Linked DNA regions of Homo sapiens: regions 1, 2 and 4 are each linked to region 3. The links are contacts of gene promoters, found by promoter capture Hi-C in blood cells and fetal thymus (Javierre and others, 2016). All regions are on one chromosome and are shown on one strand. Each heading gives the region's core, a stretch centred on a gene start or on the middle of the fragment in contact. The rest is flanking DNA. Distances are from core to core; before and after follow the strand shown.

Region 1 (3,296 bases), core at 109-2,608, 590 kb before region 3:
TGTGCATCATATTGTATTAAGGGGAAAACATCACCCAAGTAGAGCCATGTTGATACTGGCTTAAGAACACCTAACATGGGCCGGGCACAGTGCTCACGCCTGGAATCCCAGCACTTTGGGAGGCCGAGGCTTAAGAACACCTAACACGGACGGGCGTGGGGGCTCATGCCTGGAATCCCAGCACTTTGGGAGGCTGAGGTGGGTGGATCACGAGGTCAGGAGATCGAGACCATCCTGGCTAACATGGTGAAACCTCATCTTTACTGAAAATACAAAAAAAATTAGCCGGGCATGGTGGCGGGCACCTGTGGTCCCAGCTATTCGGAAGGCTGAGGCAGGAGAATGGCATGAACCTGGGAGGCGGAGCTTGCAGTGAGCCGAGATCACGCCACTGCACTCCAGCCTGGGAGAAAGAGCGAGACTCCATCTCAAAAAAAAAAAAAAAAAAAAAGAATACCTAACATGAGATAAATACTCTATTTTATTTATTTTTTAAGAAAGGGTCTTGCTGTGTTCCCCAGGCTGGAGTACAGTGGTGTGACCCCGATCACTGCAGCCTCTACCTTCTGGGCTGAAGTGATATTTCCACCTCAGCCTCCCAAGTAGCTGGGACTGCAGGCATGCACCCCCATGCCTGGCCAAATTTTTTTTTTTTTGGTATCTTTTTGTGGAGACGGTTTAACTAGCTTGCACAGGCTAGTCTCGAACTGCTAGGCTCAAGTGATCTCCATGAAGTGATCCACCTGCCTCAGCCTCCCAAAGTGTTGGGATTGCAGGTGTGAGCCACTGCTCCTGGCTGGTAAATACTTTTTACCTGCTAAACATTGCCTGAAGAAAATATTTATAAGTGATATTTTACATTTAGGGTTACTGTCCTTTTAATATGTTCATGTGAATTCAAGTTTGATAGATGTTTATGTGTCAATTGATCTTTTGTGAACAGTTCTATAGTAGTTTTCCAGGACTGCTGTAACAAAGTGCCACAAGCTAAATGCCTTAAAAGAACAGTCATTTATTCTCTCCCTGTTTTGGAGGCTAGATGTTCAAAATCGAGTTGTCAGCAGGGCCATGCTCTTTCTGAGCCTCTTCCTCTTTCCAGCTCCTGGTAGTGGCCGTCAGTCCCTAGTGCTCCTTGACCTGTGGCTACATCACTCCTGTCTCTGTTGTCACATGGCATTCTCTGTTTGTGCCTCTTCCCTTCTTGTATGGATACCAGTCATTTTGGATTAAGGGCTCACCCCATTCCAGTATAACTTCATCTTAACTAATTACATCTGCAATGACTCTATTTCCAAATAACACCACCTTCCGCATTCTGGGGTTAGGACTTCAATACGTCTTTTTAGGGGACACAGTTCAACCCATAACAGACTCAGATTTGAGAATCAGGATGAGGCAAAAGCACCTGCTAGCTTAGCTTTCAGCAAACAGGACGGAGGCCTGATGGAAATGGTTTAGCACATCCTCATGACCAAAACTTTACAAATGTTATTTTTTGATTGTAAAGATTTTGCATGCTCATTATAGAAAATTTAGAAAATCTGGGGGTAAAAAAGGAATACAAAAATTACTCATATAGCTAACACCCACAGGGAGTCACTGCTGTGTAAAGGAAAACTGGAATAATAGGGTTTTTCCCTATATTTTTGAGTTACTACTAATCAATGTCACTGTGTACTTTTACTTGTGTTTCTGGCATATTTAGGCAAAGAGGATAAAGAAGTCAAATAAATTGGTAGGGCCTTCTTTGAAAGATATGCCATTTTAATTTAAAGGTTGGTTTCTAGCAGTAAATACAAACATGTTTATTTCCCTCCTCCACTTTTTTCTTCCCTAGGTCTGGGTGAAATAAATTATATGCATGAACTTCTCACAAGCCTGGTTCATAAAAGGTATGTTGAAAATGATACAGCTGTATTCTTCTAAGCCATTGCATTGTTTCTGCCTTAAATTATCTCAGTATTTATTTTTGTATCTCATGTATATCTATTCTTTATGGAGATTTTATTTTAGTAATTTCTTAGGTTGCAGGTCTATCCACTCCATTCAAGTGTGGCTTTAGAAGAACAGAATAATGTCTTTTTAAGTCCAGTCCCTGGGTACAGAAAGGTAGGAAAACTGGGAAGACAAGTTCTAAGCACTTTAGGTAAATTTTCCTTAGAGACTCTACTCATGAAAAATATTTTCTGGGTGTCGTGGCTCATGCGTGTGTTTCCAGCACTGTGAGAGGCTGAGGTGGGTGAATCATTTGAGCTCAGGAATTTGAGACCAGCCTCATGGCGAAACCCCATCTCTACAAAAAATATAAAAATTACCTGAGTGCAGTGGCATGCACCTGTAGTCCCAGCTACTTGGGAGGCTGAGGTGGGAGACTTGTGCCTGGGAGGTGGAGGCTGCAGTGACCCGAGATCACACTGGTGCACTCCAGCCTGGGTGACAGAACAAGACTGTCTCAAAACAAAAAAAAAAAAGAAAAAAAAATCACATTTCAGCAGTGTGTTCTGTAGTTAGTGGTTACTCACTTAAACAAATATTTACCTAATGAGCCAGGTATGTTGTTTAGTTTTGTGTTTTATTTTGTAAATCAGTTTGCTAAAAAGCTAAGATTTTTTGTTTTCTCAATTCAGGAATTCTGGTGCCTTTTAATTCTTCTTTAGCATTTCTTTAACTTTGGGACTGTTCTCGTGTCCTTGAAACCACTCTGGTGACTCTGGTTAGAAGCCATATTCTAGGTCCTGCTTCAGGAGGATTTCTTTATCTCAGATTATGTGTGAATGATGGAGTTGTTTTAACAAGACCCTTCTAGAGCTGCTTGAGGTGATCAGGGGGCCTGAGTTGACAACGTCGCCCCCCTTGATTGCTTTGGAATCTCTAGGAGCAGCCTTGGGTGGTATTCTAGGGCAAGTACAGGCAACAACCCTTCTTCTAGAAACCTGGTTGTGCCCCTGGGCAATTCCAGGACCCCTCTCCACCCCACCAAAGTTACCACACCAGAAGTCAGGAATAGCTCCCTTTGCCCGTGTCTTGTCTGCCTGTGTTAAAGCCTTTGCTGTGTTGTATGTGGCTGGTTTCCATTCATCAGGGGCTTCTTGATCAATTGTGATGTGTATAAAATAGAAAAATGGCTAATTTTGAAACCTGAGTTCAGTATTTACATTCAGAAGCTTTAAAATAATTTTTGCATTTTTGTAAACTTTGCCTAATGATGTTCGGAATATAGTAGGAATGTCAGCTTTTTTCTTTGATGTTTAACAGATTATTCTGTCCACCAATATTGCAGAGAGTTCTGTCACAGT
Region 2 (3,343 bases), core at 451-2,950, 560 kb before region 3:
GGAGTGCTTTGCAGAAACCCAGCATGGTACCTTGAGAGTTTATACATTAAAAGTCACTGCCAATTTGATCATGTGCTATTTGGTCTTTCCACTGTGGTGATGAGGAAATACATATTCCTCTCATTAGTTAGACATTTTCCTTTAAAGTTTACATTCCCATTATTCCTTATGTAGAAATATGTTTTGAAAAGAAGTATTTAGTAAGCTTGATTATTTTAAGGGAAAACAGAAGTAAACAAATCTTAATTTTGCTGTATTAGACTTACACCATTTTAACAGGGTTAGAATTAGCCTTTATTTAACATATTTATTATAGAACTTAGTTAGAATTTAAAAGTCTTTAAATGCACTGATCTGTAGAGTTTATATATTATGGTTAAAGATAGTAAACTATGTTTTTAGAAACTAAAACAGTGTGCAGCAGCTTTGAGCTTGTGAATGTTGAAACTATTTTGTTAGCTCTAGTAATCTGCTCTGATTTTGTGTTATATTTTACAGTTGAAACACATTCCTCCCTATGGATTTCTTTACTATAAACAACTACAGTCTCTCTTTAGACAGTGTGGTCAAGTCAAATCCATTGTATTTGATGGTGCAAAGTAAGTATATTTTTGTAATCAACTGCAATTATGAAGGAGGCATAATGATTCAAATGTTTCCAGACGCTGATTGTTAAAACGGAGTGCCCATGGAAATGGGTCCTCCTATGGGCTGCTGCAATTGGCTTTCAGAATGTAGCTTTGGTTTATCTTATGGTCAGAAGCAATTTGTCTTCTCTTTCTGCTAAGTGACCTCCTAAAGGAACTAAGCTGCTGGTTAGTGGTCAAGCATGGTCACTCCAAGAAGGCTCAGTAACTCAGTGTGATGCTAAGGCGGATTCTCTTAAAGTGATCTTCACTTTCACGCACTGGTCTGAGATTTTCTCAGTGAGTCATTAGTAAGAGTTATTTTGTGGGCCATGAAGGTGATCCAAAATAGAGTGTATCTGCTTATAGTTGTCTAAAGCAGATATGTTTTGAATATTTTTGGAAGGCAAACATTGTAAAAACTCAATTTGGCTCTACTTACTGCATGTAAGGAACAAATGTGTGTTTTGGAGCATCACTGAGTTTTTATTTCTAACAGGAAATGTTTATGTACCAAAAAGCCTAAAGTAGGATTTTTAATTTTTAAAGTTAGAAATTTTTTCCAGTGTTCTGTGAATGTTGTATAAATTTTTATTTAACTTTACAAAGCTTTGTAAATAAGAACAAACACTTTTTCTTTAATGTCCAGTTCACTCAAGTTGAACATTAAGTCCATTTTCAATTTGGGGTAATTCCCTCCGGCATTTTAAGTTCCATTTCTATGATTAATATATTGATTTTCTTTGTAGGCCTGTAAATGCTTCATGAGGCAAACACACAACTCCCTAATAAGCAAAACCTTCCTAAGTGCTTTGAACAACTCTTAGAGAATTAATTAAACTTGTAGTGTCTGAACTTTTCTTAAATATTCTGATGTAAATTATAGTAAGATTCTTAGTCACATATATAAAGTAACTTACTTAAAGCTGGAATCACACAGCTAAACTCATTCCTGAATAGTGTGCGTCTGCTTACCTGGGTGAGCTTCCAGTTCTGCATGGATGCTCCTTTGACTGATTTGAGTGGTCAGAAGGCTTGGCTCCCAGAAGATTGCAGCATCTTTGTTCCCTCTTCTTTACAACTGGATTGGGTTCTGTGTTTGTTGCCTGTTCTTCTTGCCTGGGACTTTTTTTTGTTTTATTATTTTTATTTATTTATTTTTGAGACAGAGTCTTGCTCTGTCATCAGGCTGGAGTGCAGTGGCACAATCTCGGCTCACTGCAACCTCCGCCTCCCATTGCCTGGGACCTTTTTTATAGGTGTTTATATCTTTTGCATTCCTCATATTTCCAGCTCTCAAGTCATAATACAAATGTCATACCAATTTTTTGGGGGAAGTAACAGTATTCTTTCTGTACCAGTACCAGTTCTTGGGATTCAAGTATTTAAAGGCAAAGGAAGTTACAGTGATTGAAAGAATAAGAAGTGTATTTCTTTTGGCATAGAGCAGGGGTGACTTCATGTAGACTCTGTGAGGTGCCAAGGGCGCATGGGCAGATGGGCACAGGTGGTACCTGGGCATATCATGTTCTCCCATAAGAAGCTTTCAACTTCGTGGTAGGAGTGGAGAGTCAAATTAGTTTCACAGACATTTGCCTGCTGTGAGATGTCATGGGAAAGGCCTAGAAGGTCAGAAGAAGACATTCTATCTGAGGCCCAATATTAGAGCAGTAACATTAATTTGAGACTTCCTCGGGTAGACGTCGGAGGGTTGTGAGGCCTCGGGCTGGTGCAGTGGCCAGTGCAGAGGTGGTGCAGTAGGGTCAGGTGGTTTTCCAGCAGGAGGCAGTCATTAGCTGATCTTGACAGGGGAAAGCTGAGACTGTGCACACATAGCTGGTAGCCGTTTGGGCAGAGCTGCTCCGTGTCAGATGGAGTCTGTTTTGTGGAGGTCAGGTGCTGACTTTGAGACAGTCTTCTGGCAGACTGATGAGTGTGAACATGACTAGGTGGGCACTTGGAGACCTTTGAGTGGTCTGTCCGGAACTGTGTTTTATGGAACTTACTCAGGGATAAGCGGAAGGTCAAGGTAAGAGGAGTAGAAGCCGGCCTGGAGTCTTTGCAGTAGTCCAAAGCAGAGGTACTGAGATGTGCAGCCAGTATGGTGCTGTTGGACATGAAAAGGAGCCAACAGACGGGAAGGAGGATGTCTTGGATTTGCCTGGTGATTGCATGTGGGGGGCAAAGAAGTGAGAGGAGCCCAAGAGCATCCGGCTTTCCAGCCTGGATGCTGGGGAGGATGCAGCTTCGAGGAGAAGACGCTGAGGTCTGGAGTTTAAAATTACTTCTACGGAGTCTTAGGAGAGACTCTAAAGAAGGGAGATAAAGCAGAAGGGCATGAATCAGGCAGTGGGTGGAAGGAAAATGCGTGCATTTATGAGTGAAGAGGATGGGGCGTGAAGGAGAGCGGAGGAGGCGGAGCGGGTCAGGGTTGATTCATGTACCTGCTCCACACACCTCCCCTGCTGGGCGTCTTTCCAAACTGCTCAAGGTGTACATTTCCAGGAGAGAGCTCATTACAGGACGATTTTTATAGTAGAGGAAGGGGCCCAGGTCTGTTTTTGTGGCTCTGTGATGATGTGGGGACCCAGGGGCATTAGAACTTGCATGCATAGCAAGGTAAACTTGATGCTGTCTTCCTTCTGCCTGGCACATCCAGCAGGCACCTTTTGCTCCATGCCTGCTCCTCATGCCCCAGAGTGGGGCTGGAATGGGAC
Region 3 (3,129 bases), core at 475-2,974:
AGAGCCCAGGCTGGAGTGAGGCGCAATGGACGGAGGCGAGGAGGGTGCAGCCGAGCCCTATCAGATACGGCCGGAAATATGACCCCGCTGGGACCTGAGCCCTGAGCCGAGCCATCAGCTCACTAATAAATTACCCAGAGCGAATGTCCACAGGGTCAGCCCGCATCGCCTTTCCAGGGAGCACAGAGAGGGGGCGGCACCCAAGGTCTGTGGGCTGACCGTTCCCTCCCCTCTGTCAATGAGAAGGGTCAGGAAGGAGTTGTCCCGGAGCCCCCCGACCTCGGGCAGTGCAGCCTGACCTCTGAAATCTGGGAGGAGCAGCTCCAGCCCTGGGAAGCCAAGGATAAGCGCCCAGATTGGGCACAGGCGGGAGAGGGTCTTGTCTGGCTACAGGACCTCACTCTTCCCAGGAAGCCAGACTGCCAGCAGGACCACCCAGCCTTCCTCAGTGCTCTCCCTGGAACAAGCGTCAGCGAGCCAAGGCCCTCCTGCCAATCTGGCCCACCCCGTTTGTGTAGACACAGAGCGCACTGTGTGCCATATGGCCCTGTAAGAGAAAAGTTTGCTCCCCCATGCCCTGTACTGAAGACGGCAGTGAGGGGAGGGCCGGTCTGCTGAACCCCATCCCAGTGGCTGCGTTGCTCATGCTCTGACGGTGGGTTCCAGGACTCTGTGTCCATGCAGCCCCACGGCTGGCCCTGAGCAGTCACCCTCTGTGCACACTGTCCCCCAGCCTGGCACACCCTGGGCTCCCAGGGGTCCTGTAGCTTTACCCAAGGGAGATGCACCCCCATTCCTAATGGAGAAACACGGGTCTCTCCACACCTCCTCCAGCAGTCCCCTGAAACAGGTCAAAGCCCCACAAACCAGGCAGGGGTCTGCCCACATGTGGTGGTGCCCTGCGCCAGTGATGCCCTCACCAGCCTCTTTCAGACCTGCCTTTACATGCACCAGCAGACGGGGGGGCTGGCGAGGACGGGCCACCAAGCCTGAGCCAGGCTACCACCTCCGGGCTGTGTGACTCTGGACAGGGTGCCTCAACTCTCTGAGCTGCACTTTCACCTACAAATGAGGGGCAGACTCAGCAGCGCCAGGCAGGGCAGTTGGACGCCCACCCAGGACAGACCCTGAGAAAGGCTGATCCCTCACCCCTGCCATCGCTCACTGACCCATACATTGCCCCTTCCTGCCAGGGCAATATCGAGGGTCGGCCAGTGTGCCCCAAAACGGCAGCTTGGGACCCATTCTTTGCCTCTCCCTCTGGCAACCCCAGGTCAGGACTCACAGGGGCACAGGGGCCTGGGGCAGGGCGGGCACTCTCGCCACCACGGAGGCCCCATGCTGGGTCAGGGTCTTATTGGAGGCTGGACTCTGTGATCACCTCACCTCCCGCAGCCCCACAGTGCCCTCCCTCTCCCACTCTGCCCCGAATTCCAATCCATAGGTTTTTCCAAGAGCTGCACAGCTCTGGAATTGACCTGGGAGGGGGCACATTTGGGCCGGGAGGGGTAGGAACAGCAGCAAACTCTGGTCTTATCTGAAATCATGGTCTGTTGTCCACCGGGGGCCTGGGAAACAGCCACCCCCTTCTGCTCCGGGGCCAGCGGCCTGTCCTCGGGTTCACTGCTATTTCTGCCAAAGGGGAGAGGTAATTATAGCCTGGCCGCTGCCAGCTGGCCCAGCTTTGCGATCCAGCAGAGAGGGCTGGAGACGGGACGAAGGCCACAACAGACCCGGCCCTGCCAGCGGGCGGTGGCGCCTCCAGATCAGAGCCCTCGGGAAGGAGGCCTGGGCGGGCCTGGCCCGTTCACCTGTGTGCCCTGCAGTTCTGCCCGAGGCTCAACTCTCAAGGGCCTGGGAGGGGTGCTGCCGGCCAAGAGGGTCCAGGACCTCACTGGACTGTGCCCCACAGGGAGATCCCGAAGAGCCTGTTTCTGTCCCTCGGGGAGCCAGGAGGGAACCAGGTGAGTTCCAGCCCCAGGGAGAGGGGGCTCACTTCCTGCTTGGGTATGAAGATGCCAGAGCGGAGAGATTGCCAAAGGCAGGTGCAGGTGGGGAACCTGCCCCAGCTGGGCAGCAGGTGTGGGCAGAGACTGGGCAGAGCGGAGAGATTGCCAAAGGCAGGTGCAGGTGGGGAACCTGCCCCAGCTGGGCAGCAGGTGTGGGCAGAGACTGGGCAGAGCACACACTGATGATCCTGAGTGACCTGAACAAGCTCCAGAGTGGCCACCCTTCCCCCTTCTCCTGGGACTGATGGTTTCCCTAAAACGGAGACAGTCCCAGGCCGGCCCTGTGTCCACACTGAGGCCAGGCCGCCTCTGGGGGAAGCAGGGAACACGGCCACTTCAAACTTAGCAGCGGGGGTGCTCCTGGCCACACAGGAGCTTCCAAAGGGCACCTGATGTTGCGCGAAACAGCCTGGGCAGTGGGAGAAGGGGCTGCACTCTCAGGGGAATGCAGGCAGCCGTGCCAGGCATGAACCCAGCCAGCCTTCCCTGAAGGGCCTTGGTGGGGGGCATCCTCCGAGGGCAAGTCTACGCAGGCCCAGCCTAGCAGGAATGGATTCGTTACTCCAGTAACTGAAGCCTAGTTCTCAGTGTTTGGGAATCCCTGAGAACTGGCTCTTTTCTGAGCCGTCAGTCAGAAGGAATCCCTGTCCTGCCCTGTGTGGCCATGGGACCCCCACCCAGCACTGGACGCCACGCCATTTCTTGGGCACTACTGAGCTTTGCAGTGCCCTGGACAGTTGGCAAACAGCCCCCATTCCACATATGGGAGGAAGGGCCTGGGGGGGTCCCCCGCCCTGTCTGTCTGGAGCTCTCGAGGCCTAGGGTGGCCCCTGCACCCAGCAGATGAGCAGCCATCACCCGGTACTGCTGCTACCTCGAGCCCTAACTGCACCTCGGGATGTGAGGGCCCATCTAGGCATGGAGAGGGGCCTCAGGGGGCCACCAGGCAGCTCCTGCTCCTGTTCCTACCTGGTAGGGCCTGCAGGCACCTGAGCAAGCCCAGTGGGCGGTCAGCCCAGCCAGGGGCCTCCCCACAAGTTCTCCCTCTTACTTAAGTCGAGAACGCATGTTGTCTGGGGAGCTGCCAGCGTGGTTCCAGTGGTGAGCGTTGGGCTGGGAG
Region 4 (3,113 bases), core at 260-2,759, 540 kb before region 3:
CGCCCAGCTTACGTGCTGTTCTTTTAGGCCATTTTCTGACTGCTTTGGCTGGTGCGAGGTTACGCGGTGGAGCATTCTCACTTTTCCTTTTATACAAGGATGTGGGAAGTATTAATAATTGACTCCTGGATCTTTCATTCATTCCACCCTGCTTGGCTACAGAGTAGAATACATCCAAGCTCTTGGCCCTGGGAAAAATCCAATAGCCTGATTAGGGGAAAGAGATGCAAAGAGTAACCAAATAGGAGTTATCCCCAAGTGGGGTAAAAGCTTACGCATCATAGCGTAGTGTCTCTCTGTAGGGTACTGTGGAAACAGAGAACAGGGAGTGTGCGTTACTATTGGGGTGGGCCTGTGGGGACTGGACAGACTCAGCAGAGGAGGGGATACCTGCAGATGAGTAGGAGCGGGCCGGGAGGGAACGCTGCCCTGAGCAGCGTGAGTTAATGCCCGATGTTGATTTAGCATGACTTGAACAGGATCTACGATGCTGCTGAGAGAAACCTCTCTGATGCCTCATATCCCTGGCCTCCCGGCTCTCCTCAGCATGTTATTCGCACCGGTGATAGAGTTAAGGTACGGGCATCCCTCTTGTCTATAGGCTTTGTAAAATAAGAACCTGGGCGGGAAAAAACGGGTGCCTCTCCTTGCTCCTTTTGGAAAGAAAGCCTTTATGGAAGCTAGCCATGGCACGTCTCGCTGCTTGGGGTGAAGCCTGTATTGTTATTGATTTATTTATGCTTGGGCTGATTTTGAAAGAAGCTCAGAAAGCTTGTAAAGGTACACACTGTGTCACATAGGAGCTTGAGGCAAAAAAGGGGTAAAATAAATTAAAAATGGAGCTAGGAATGAGGCTCAAAATAAATGTCATGGTGATGGACATCCCATTGTTAATGGGTGGTGAATGTGATTCCAAGTTTTCTGGTGACCAGTTGTCGACAAGAACCCGTCAGTCCCCCTTCTTGTGGTAACCATGACATCAGAAGGCAGATTGCCCAGCAGATTGTAGCTCTTGTTAATGCCACGATTAAGCCAGGATTTCTCCCAGAGACTTTGATAGAGAGGAGTGTGTGATGCCATGAGCAGAGCTCTTAAAGGCACCCTCACAGTGGGGGCTGCTGCCGTGTAAGGTTTTGTTTGCAGACTAGGGATTGACAGAGCATTCTCTGTGGGGAAAGCACTAACATAGGTTTTAGTGGAGCAGTGGGTGGGGGTGGCTAGAAAAGGAGTAATATTTGGGCTTTAGGAACTCACATTCTGCTGGGCAGGATGGAAATGGCCATGACGAGATTGCAGTAGAGGCCTGGTAGCACTTCAAGAGTCGGGGGCATGGAAAGTTACCCTTTTCTTCTTTTCTAGTCAGCTGGTGAGCATGGAGGGGTGGTCCATAGACCTAGAGGGCTAAGTTCAGTCAAGGCAGGTGGAAGGGCCCCACCGTTTACTCAGTCCTTTTTGCCATTACACTTGTTCAGAATCTGACAGTGCAATCTCAAAATGTGTAGTGCTTTTTTTTTTAGTTGTAAGAATATTTTTTTCATTAAAATATGTGCTACTTAGAAAAAGCTGAATGGGAAAAATTAACACATTTTTAAATTTATAGATTTAAATTTAAATAGTATACTTATTTTAAATTTGTATATACATATTTTTATTTAAGATTCTTGTTATACTGTATTCTTTTCCCACAAATACCAGGTTTTTCATATTATGATATCTTTGTAAATATCCATTTTGATAATTGTATCATATATCACTGAATGGGCATATGATGGCTTACAAAAATACCGCCCTGTTTTAATTATACATGCACTTGTTTCTGAGCGGCTCTTGTCTGAAAGGATTGAATATGCCTTTAATTGTTGAAATGTGACCTAATTTTGCAATGATGATGCAGTAAATCCCTCTGTAAGTTCAGGCGTCTTGGAGCCTCGGTGGGGAGACAGATGTGCAGGAACCACACGTGGCAGTGGGATGATCTCATGAGCAAATAGCACGCTGTGCACCTGCAGGCCTGAGGCTTGGCTAGTGCAGAAGCAGGTCCCTTCCTCTCATGGCACTTTGGACGCCCTGCTTGCCTTTTTAACTAGACAAAGCTCCTGCTTCACCTCTTTTAAACACCAGCTTTTGAGGATTTGAATGATATAGTGTGTTATTTTCACAACTCCAGAGTGCAAGCGTTTAGGTTGTAGACATTCAAGAAATACTGACATACTTGGTATTTAAAACACCATCTTTCTAGAAAAAGCACAAGCTTAATAGGAAAAGGTTATATATAACAATACACAGTGCTTTGCTGATTATATTCATTTTGTTGAATTAACTGAAATGTGCCAGATTTGGGACGGTTTATGTGACAGTGTGCGTAAGACTAGTTGTCTTTGAATCCACAGGCTTAACTAGGTGATTATCGGAAAGGTAGCAGGGGGGCCTGGTTGATTTTCCTCCAAACTCTGCCTGCCTCTGAGTAGTTGTATAAGCTTGGTTTTGTTGTTGTTTTTTATTTTGTTGTTGTTTTTTGAGACAGGGTCTCACTCTGTCTCTAAGGTTGGAGTTTTTTTTTTTTAATTTGTTGAGTGAGTAACAACTGTTTTTGAGAAACTTTGAAAGATGACAGCTGTTTGATTTGGGATGAGCATTCTCCTTTCCTTTCACTTTAAATATGCAGTCTTCTGCAGCGAGCAGGAGGGGGGTCTTCAGTACAGAACTGGCCCAGGGGTCCCAGCACTGTGTCTTAGGTGTGTTCCGGAGGGGAGCTGTCCTCCAAAGCCCACAGCTCCTGCGAGCCGCTGCCCCGCCATGCGCCCATGCCCGTTTGCTTCCTTTTGTGAGCCACCTCTCTAATGCGCACCCGCATGGGACTCGTCTCCTGTTCGGGTGGCGTCTGGCTGCTGCACTAGAGGCTGTCCTGGCCCCCCTTGTTAAACGCGAAGCTTGCAGTCTCTGGGTAAAGTCTGTTCTCCCTCCACATGTGTCACTGTCCTGTCACAACTGATTCAACTTTACGACTAAGTGATAATTTTTTACCACCTCTAACATACTCTTTGTACAATAGTGGCAGGAAAGGAAGATGAGCAGAAAACTTAATTTTATCTTGATTTTCAATTTAAAAAGGG

Evidence for each region. The method cuts DNA at HindIII sites, captures the fragments that hold promoters and counts their contacts. A CHiCAGO score of 5 or more calls a contact.
Region 1: a fragment that was not itself captured here is called in contact with the fragment with the promoter of C14orf180 in region 3 in 1 of 17 cell types (endothelial precursors); the score reaches 5.6 in endothelial precursors.
Region 2: a fragment that was not itself captured here is called in contact with the fragment with the promoter of C14orf180 in region 3 in 5 of 17 cell types (activated CD4 T cells, endothelial precursors, naive CD8 T cells and 2 more); the score reaches 7.1 in activated CD4 T cells.
Region 4: a contact is called between a fragment that was not itself captured here and the fragment with the promoter of C14orf180 in region 3, in 5 of 17 cell types (endothelial precursors, naive CD4 T cells, naive CD8 T cells and 2 more). The highest score is 6.9, in endothelial precursors.

The regions. Positions count from the first base shown.
Region 1 is chr14:103,992,495-103,995,790 of GRCh38, forward strand. It overlaps TDRD9 (tudor domain containing 9), which reads left to right. Exons shown (of 36, transcript NM_153046.3): 10 at 1,838-1,892; 11 at 2,025-2,109; 12 at 3,256-3,296. Among named protein-coding and RNA genes, the nearest start is that of RD3L, 52 kb to the left of the region's middle. The HindIII fragment of the contact is 3,607 bases long and covers 1-3,162 here.
Region 2 is chr14:104,017,594-104,020,936 of GRCh38, forward strand. It overlaps TDRD9 (tudor domain containing 9), which reads left to right. Exons shown (of 36, transcript NM_153046.3): 23 at 499-599. Among named protein-coding and RNA genes, the nearest start is that of ASPG, 66 kb to the right of the region's middle. RefSeq lists an enhancer at 1-503. The HindIII fragment of the contact is 934 bases long and covers 1,234-2,167 here.
Region 3 is chr14:104,578,040-104,581,168 of GRCh38, forward strand. C14orf180 (chromosome 14 open reading frame 180) reads left to right here and starts at 1,725. Exons shown (of 5, transcript NM_001008404.3): 1 at 1,725-1,964. The HindIII fragment of the contact is 16,067 bases long and covers 1-3,129 here.
Region 4 is chr14:104,034,481-104,037,593 of GRCh38, forward strand. TDRD9 (tudor domain containing 9) reads left to right here. Exons shown (of 36, transcript NM_153046.3): 32 at 480-576. Among named protein-coding and RNA genes, the nearest start is that of ASPG, 50 kb to the right of the region's middle. The HindIII fragment of the contact is 1,480 bases long and covers 770-2,249 here.